Linked DNA regions of Homo sapiens: region 1 is linked to region 2. Evidence: promoter capture Hi-C in 16 types of primary human blood cells and fetal thymus (Javierre and others, 2016). All regions are on one chromosome and are shown on one strand. The core of a region is centred on a gene start or on the middle of the fragment in contact, and the rest is flanking DNA. Distances in the headings are between cores, read along the strand shown. Region 1 holds the start of MTCH2 (mitochondrial carrier 2). Region 2 holds the start of CRY2 (cryptochrome circadian regulator 2).

Region 1 (4,040 bases), core at 1,323-3,822, 1.8 Mb before region 2:
GGCTTCTGGGCTTCATTATTGACCTCTTGGAAGCTTTTGACATATTGACTATCCTTTCTTTTTCCAAACTTTTCTGTTGACTTCAGTGACATGCTGTTCTAGTTCTGTTTCCTTCCCAGTTAATTCTGCCCCTTTTGACTTCCGTTATTCCTCTCACCACTGCAATATGGGTCAGCAAATATAACCCATCTTAGGGTCATCATACTGAACTGTATCAGGGAATGCCATTCAGATCATAGTCTTTGTGACTGGCCCCACTCTGAGTTATGCAGTGCACAGCCTAGGCAGCTGTACATAGCACCTCTTCCCTTATCTATACTGCTGACTTCGGTTACCTATTCTCTGCAGATTCTTCCCAAAACCTCATCAGCAGCTTCTGCCTCACACCATTGGAAAATATTGTGGAGCAGACTGAATCCCCCAACCACCCACCCCTGGCAAGAGGCTCTGTGCCTCCCCATGCTCACTAGCATCAGTGGGACAAGGCAATATTATTTGGCACCATCAATGCACAAATCCAAGAATAAATAATCCAACCAGGTGTGGTGACTCACACCTGTAATCCCAGCACTTTGGGAGGCAGGTGGATCACTTGAGTTCAAGAGTTTGAGACCAGCCTGGGGCAACATGGCGAGACCCCATCTCTACTAAAAATACAAAAAAAATAGCTGGGCATGGTGGTGCACACCTGTGGTCCCAGCTAATTGGGAGACTAAGGTAGGAGGATCGCTTGAGCCCAGGAGGTGGAGGTTGCAGTGAGCCGAGATTGCACCACTGCACTCCAGCCTGGGTGACAAAGAGAGACCCTGTCTCAAAAAAAAAAAGAAAAGAATCCCCTGCTAAATAGTCTCTCTGGCTCAGCTTTATGTTTCTAGATTCAGTTAGAAGCAACTTGTTTCTTACAACTTTATTTTTTATTTATTTATTCTTTTGAGACTGAGTCTCGCCCTGTCACCCAGGCTGGAGTGCAATGGCGCAATCTTGGCTCACTGCAACCTCCAACTCCCGAGTTCAAGCGATTCTCCTGCCTCAGCCTCCCGAGTAGCTGGGATTACAGGCACCCGCCATCACACCCAACTAATTTTTGTACTTTTAGTACAGATGGGGTTTCACCATGTCGGTCAGGCTGGTCTTGAACTCCCGACCTCAGGTGATCCACCCACCTCAGCCTTCTAAAGTGTTGGGATTACAGGTGTGAGCCACCGTGCCCAGCCAATATCTGTATTTCAATATAAAGTTTTTTAAAAAAAACCCTTTCCTATGCATAATTTCACTTAATGCTCATAATAACCCTGAGAGATACACAGTAGTGTTAGATTTAGATACAAAAACTGGAAATTAAAGTAGCTAAAATGACAAATGGATGCAGTGGAAAAGCCAGGATCCAAATCCAAGTCTTTCCCCTACAGTACTTCACTCTGCTCCAAGCTCAGATTCACCAAATGTTGTTTGATAGAACACGTGAGCTGGGGCTGAAGGAGCAGGGACAATGCCTTTTTCACTTTTGCCTCTGATAGCCTGTAGACTGGTAGGCACTGAAGTATTTGTTCACTTGTGCAATAAATATTTATTGAGCACCTCGTATGTGCTGGGCACTGAAAACACAACCGTGAACAGAGGCTGTCACGGTTCCTGAACTCATGGAGCTTTCATTCCAGTGGAGGAGACATAATTTCAGTGATAATGCTACGACGGGGCACAATGTGGGAGAAAATAAGAGGGAGGTGGCCAGGCGCGATGGCTCCTCACTCCTGTAATCCCAGCACTTTGGGAGGCCAAGGCGGGTGAATCACGAGGTCAGGAGTTTGAGACCAGCCCGGCCAACATCGTGAAACCCCGTCTCTACTAAATAGACAAAAATTAGCCGGGCGTGGTGGCGTGTGCGTGTAATCCCAGCTACTAGGGAGGCTGAGGCAGGAGCATTGCTTGAACCTGGGAGGCGAAGGTTGCAGTGAGCTGAGATCGGGCCACTGCACTCCAGCCTGGGTGACAGAGCGAGACTCCGTCTCAAAAAAAAAAAAAAAAAGAAAGAAAAAGAAAAGGGGGAGGTAATTTTAGAATGGTCAGAGAAGGTTTTTTTGAAAAGATAACATTAATCAAACGAATAAATGAATGAAAAGCCACTCGCTAGCGGATTCATTATTTGCTATACTTATTTAGAGTTTGTCAGTCACGAGACTGTTACGGCTCTGATGCTGAGTATCTTTTGAATCCTATGTTGATGATGCCCAAAAGGCAAGTGCAGAGATGAAGCATAATGAAGAATCCTTTTCAATTTCTTTTCAGTCCTCTGACCTTGCCTCTGCCGTCACGGTCACACTCCCCCACTGACACTCCCATTCTTCTGTTTCCGGACACTTGCGGCCTGGAAGCGCATGTGCAAGAGAAACCGTCATTCCTGGTGAAGGGCGAGCCCCCGGCAGAACGCATGCGCCTCTGTCCCTTAAGCCCCGCCCCGACCTCAGCGCCCCCTCGCGAGCGCCTGCCGTTTCTCGGGGCGGGACGGGGGGGCGGGGACTGGGCGGAGAGGCGCGTGCTGCTGCGTGCGTGCGCGCGCGCCGCGGGCGGGCCAGTGAAACCGGCGGCCCTGGCACGTGACCTAGGACCGGCTCACCGGGTCGCTTGGTGGCTCCGTCTGTCTGTCCGTCCGCCCGCGGGTGCCATCATGGCGGACGCGGCCAGTCAGGTGCTCCTGGGCTCCGGTCTCACCATCCTGTCCCAGCCGCTCATGTACGTGAAAGTGCTCATCCAGGTATGAGGCGTCGCCGCTCCCTACCCCGCCCGGCGCCCCGTTCGGTCGCTGCTGCTCAGGGCGCCTGAGGATCGGCTCAGCCTTGCGGGCCTTTCATTCTCCCGAGATGCTGCTGCTCCTCCGCTGCCCTTTACCTCCCCGCAGGGACAGCTTCCTCAGTCCCGCGGCCCCGCTTGGGGGCCTCGCCGAGCCCTCGCCTCGCCGCCCAGCGTTGAGGCCCTCTCCTCCCTTAGCCAACCGCCACCCGGCCCTGCCCTGCCCGGCGGATCCTCTGAACTTTGGTTCTTCGTCACTGAGGTGGATCCTGGCCGGTCGCCACCAAAGGCTTCCGAACCCTCCCTCTCGCCCCTCCGAAATTCACATTCACCACTACTCCCCCCAAAATCTCAGACGCAAAACACGAAATACTCAGTTGAAGACAAATGTGAAGTTAGGTGGGAACCAACATTTTATTTTTTATTCCTTTTTTTTTTCTTTTTATGCTACTGTTACTACTGCTTTTCTGTTCCGAGGTTTTCGCACCAGATACTGAGAGAAACACAAGGAGCTCATTCAGAAGTGTTAATGAAGGGGTTGCTCTGTCAGATTTCGGAAGGATGCATTGAGCGCTTTCCAGCAGCGGCCCATGTGGCTCCTGACAATGAAAATCACATTTGTCAGAGCTGGAAATTAGTGAAGCTGAGTTTTAGCGAGTTTAAACATGGGAGTTAGTTTCTAATCTACTGTCAAATAATTATTACATGGTATTTTATATTCACATGCAGGTAGGCCAAGTAAGTGATAGACTTAGTGTTTCCAGTTCCTTTGCTATATCCCTGTAATGGGCAGGTCATTCTTTTTTTTATGCTTTTACTGAGAGTTGACATAATTACCTCATGCACTGTGCCTAGGAATGGAACAGTTTTTAGAACCCCTGTCTCGCCGTCTACTTTTCTGTAAAAAATAGGCAAGACACTAGAGAGGGCCCCATTTCTTATTCTTGAGTTGTTGGGAATCCAAATTATTTCTTGCTGAGTAGACCTGTGTGAATTCAGATTCCATATGTTAAAGGCTATTGCAAATAAATTCTTTGTACTTAGAACAAAGACTGATTAGAATGTACTGTAACATCCAAAACAGAATTGGCACATTTGGGGCTAGATAGCATCGGAGGTGACAGCATGTTGCAGTATATAGTAAGAACCCTTGGGGCCGGGCGCGTTCGCTCACGCCTTCCCAGCACTTTGGGAGGCCGAGGTGAGCGGATCACGAGGTCGATGTTTGAGACCAGTCTGACCAACATGGTGAA
Region 2 (4,031 bases), core at 1,222-3,721:
TCTAACAGAACTGGGAGAAAGGGGCTGGGCACAGTGGCTCATGCCCTGTAATCCCAGCAGTTTGGGAGACCAAGGTGGGCAGATCACCTGAGGTCAGGAGTTTGAGACCAGCCTAGCCAACATGGTGAAACCCTGTCTCTACTAAAAATACAAAATAATTAGCCAGGTGTGGCGATGGCCACCTGTAATCCTGGCTACTTGGGAGACTGAGGCAGGAGAATTGCTTGAACCCGGGAGGTGGAGGTTGCAGTGAGTCCAGACTGCGCCATTGTACTCTAGCCTGGGCAACAAGAACAAAACTCCGTCTCAAAAAAAAAAAAAAATAGAATTGGGGGAAAGGGGCCCAGGTATCTTTTAAAGACCCTTATGGGATTCCAATGCACAGCAGCCAAGATTGAGAACCACTGCTCTAGTCTGTCCCCTTATCTTATGTTTCTCATGGCACTTCGTTTCACTAAATTATGGTTGTTTGTTGGTAAAATGTAGGCTCCAGGAGTTCTGGAGCACAGACACATCTGCTTATTCACTGCTGTATCCCTAGCAACATCTAGAGCAGTACCTGGCAGATATTAGGCACTTATTAAGTGATCAATTAATATCTGCATTCTTACACAGCCTCTGACTTCAGGATTTGACTCAGGCATCTGAGCCACATTCCTTTTCTTCTTCACTAGATTGATAGCACGATCACAAAATGATGACCCACAAAAATCCATAAACACCTGGTTCCTAGCAAACTGGAGTTTAATCAACAGGAATTTTATTGTTGATTTTTAATCTTCCCTATCAAAAAAGAGTAGGCAGTACTATGCAATGTCCCCCAAAACCCAATAAAAGAAGAAACTCTGTGACAATGTAACAAGAAGGTAGTCGGATTCCATTTGCCTGGCTCCGACTGGTGCAGGGCAAAGTCTGAGGCTTGGCTTAATGTGCACACTAGGGATGGTCATTTGATGATGCTTGTCAAACCCAACCTCCTATCTGTAGAAAACTGGAGCAGAGACAGAGCAATAAGGCAGCCTGAAAACTGTGGGCAGGCTCTCCACAGGACTCCTTAGTTGTTCCTTCTGGGCAGGAGGGGACACTGAACAGGCCCACTGCTAGCAGCACTCACTCTCTTAGCAGGGCACACACCTTGGAGAGAAAAGAATGGTGTGCCGAGAGCCACGGTATCCTGGAAATAACCCTGTCCATCGATGCAACAAGGCCACAAGCAAACATTCCCCAGAACAATGCAAACAAACCGAGCGACTGCCACTAGGTGTTCTGAAGAGCGATGGGTACATTATGTCTCAAAACTCTTTAGTTTGAATACTGTTTACAGTGAAAATACACTAACGACCTGTTCATCTTTTTCCATGATCATGTCGACTCCATCTCCTGGGGGGTCATCAGAGGGGCCCTTGATATCATGGCTTTCCTGCTCCCTAACCTTACCACAACAGTTCATAAAAGTCTCATCTCTAATGGCTCTACTGTCCTCTAAAATCATGACAAGAGGATGACGGGGTGACACTTTGGATTCTTTTAAATTTTTCTATCGAGGTCAAAGCTCCAGAGCAGGGCTTAAAACATTTTGGAGAATCCCCTGGATTCTCTGGAGCTTTGAACATAAAGCGACTCCACCTGAAGACGCCTTTGGCTTCTTTATTTATAATATAGGGGAGAAGACCTTATTTAATGCTAAGCCAGGGTCACTTGACACCCCTAGAGGCAGGACGGTCTGGGTGCAGGGTAGCCAGGATGGGTGGTAGGGCGGATTCAAACGAGCCAGAGGCTTCGGAGTGATCTCCCCGAGCCCAGCAACGGGCTCTTGAAGAATGCGAGCAAAAACCCGTCCCGCCCTCACACTACGTTATCTCCCTTCCGCCCCTCCCTGAGTAGACCGTAAGAGCCCTAGACCAGGAGCCCCTGTTCTGCCACTCACTGGCTACAAGTCCTTGGGCAGGTCGACTTTGGGTCTCCAGGGCTCAAGGGTCTCATCTGTACAACGGGGATCATGATCTCCGTTCCACAGGCAGTTGTGAGGCTCAAAGGGGTAACAGTGCGAACGCGCTTTGTCAGAGGCTGAACCCTGGCCCACCGGCGCGTTAGGACCATGACGAATTACTTCCCCGGTCTCGGCTTCTCCCCTCTGGCCTTCCAGCCGTGGCGGGGTTGGGGGGATCGTGCTGTTCGCCGGTCACCCCAGGGTCAGGGTCCTGGCTGCGTCCCCGCCACCCAGCCCCGGGTCCCCTCACCTCCATCGGTTGATCCCGACTGAGGAGGAGGCCGCGAACCACGGGTCGAGAATGTAAACGCAGCGCACGCAGCGCGCCCCGCGCACGGCCGCCAGCAACGCCGGGTTGTCGTGGAGTCGCAGCCCTTTGCGGAACCAGTGCACCGAAGAGGCGCTGTCCGTGCCGGGCGCTGGCGCCGGGGCCACAGCTGCCGCCGTCGCCACAGTCGCCGCCATGACTGTCCAGACTGCTCCAGCCACCCCCGCTCCGCCCCGGTAGGCGACGTGGACCCCGCCCATAGCCCGCCCAGTGACCTATGACGCCGCAACTCCACCCTTAGTCCCCGCCCACAGGGCCCCAGAGCCCCTCTGCCATTGGCTGAGTGCCTTCCACCTGGCGATTGGCCCAGAGGCGCCGGAACAGGCCCGCCCCCTCACGTTCCTACCATGTGTGGGTCCGCCCGGGTGGAGCTGGCATGCGGACAAGTGACGCAGGCTGGGGCTGTCCGCAGGCTGGGGCTGTCCGCGGAGTGCCGGGAGTAGGCCAAGTCTCAAGGGACAGCGGATCTCTTACCCACGTCCTGTTCAGGGCCTGCTTCTAGAAGAAGCTGCCTGGGCTGGTAGGGGTTGCTGTGACTACAGCCAGTGACTTGCAAGACTGACAGCTGACCTTCCTATTATCACCAACATCGTCACCATCACCATCTACATCATTCTACTACAGCTGCCATTTATTAAGTGCACTTTATATGGCAAGAGACATGATCATCTCCTTACGTAGACGGTCTCATTTACTATTCTCAACTCAGCCCAGTTACATTCATTTAGCGAACCCCAGTGAAAAAGCTGCTGTTGTTTTCGTTTCACAGATGAAGAAAACGGAGGGTGCCGCAGGTTGAGTGACTTATTCAATATCATAAAGCTGCTAAGAGGATTTCACCCAGATTATTCTGATTTCGAAATTTCTGCTTTTATCCACGAAGCTATACTTCTCTTTGTGCGAAGATCCTTGGTAATTCCAAGTGGCAGAGTCTAAGGACGGGGAAGGAGTGCCCTAATATGCAGCAGTAGAGGATTTGGGAGTAAGGACTGGGAATGTGGGGGACTTGAATTGAGATAGTAATTATGCCATCAGATGAATTTATTTTCTTTTAGTCTGTTTAGTAGATCCAGTGTGTGCAAAGCACTGTACTGGATTCCGGGTAGGGTTCAGAGATGTGGAGGACACTGTCCCCATTCTTCTGGGACGCCAGGTGGAACCCTCTTGGGCTAAGACGGCTTAGTCAAGCTGCAGCTTTGGGGTTATCAGGTGGAAAACAGTCTGTTTCAACTTGACCCTAGGTTGAGCCCATGCTTGGAACCCTTCCTGGACCTGGGACAGAGTGATGAAAGCATTTAGTAATTTAGTCTGCAATTTAGTGGCATTAATTGGCACCACTCTCTAAACCAGTGTCACTGCAATCCTAGGCATTCTCTGTCATTTCCAGGGCTTTTCACGAGCTGTTCCAGCAGTCTAGATCACACTCCCTCTTCCATCTTTGTTTCTAACTCCAGTTTGCTCTGTATCATTGTTCAGTATAGATGTCACCTTCTTGCTGTCTGATCCCAACCTGAATAGTGCCCCATCTTATTCTGTGCTTCTTTTTGGTCACTTGTCTTGGCACACAATACTGAAATTTCTTGCTTAAAAGTCTTTCTGCCCCATTAGAGTATAAACTCCTGGAGAGCAGGGGCTGTGGCTTATTTACATACAGTTGTATGTCTGAAGTCTAGCTCAGGGCTTGGCACCTAACGCTCAAGGATTATTTGAGTA

What was found. The method cuts DNA at HindIII sites, captures the fragments that hold promoters and counts their contacts. A CHiCAGO score of 5 or more calls a contact.
Region 1: a contact is called between the fragment with the promoter of MTCH2 here and the fragment with the promoter of CRY2 in region 2, in 1 of 17 cell types (monocytes). The highest score is 5.6, in monocytes.

What each region holds. Positions count from the first base shown.
Region 1 is chr11:47,641,091-47,645,130 of GRCh38, reverse strand. It overlaps MTCH2 (mitochondrial carrier 2), which reads left to right and starts at 2,572. Exons shown (of 13, transcript NM_014342.4): 1 at 2,572-2,752. The coding sequence starts at 2,666. RefSeq lists a silencer at 2,382-2,651. The HindIII fragment of the contact is 6,217 bases long and covers 36-4,040 here.
Region 2 is chr11:45,845,915-45,849,945 of GRCh38, reverse strand. It overlaps CRY2 (cryptochrome circadian regulator 2), which reads right to left and starts at 2,471. Exons shown (of 12, transcript NM_021117.5): 1 at 2,241-2,471. The coding sequence starts at 2,455. RefSeq lists a silencer at 1,701-1,810 and enhancers at 1,759-2,280, 2,211-2,450, 2,811-2,860, 2,911-3,020. The HindIII fragment of the contact is 7,201 bases long and covers 1-4,031 here.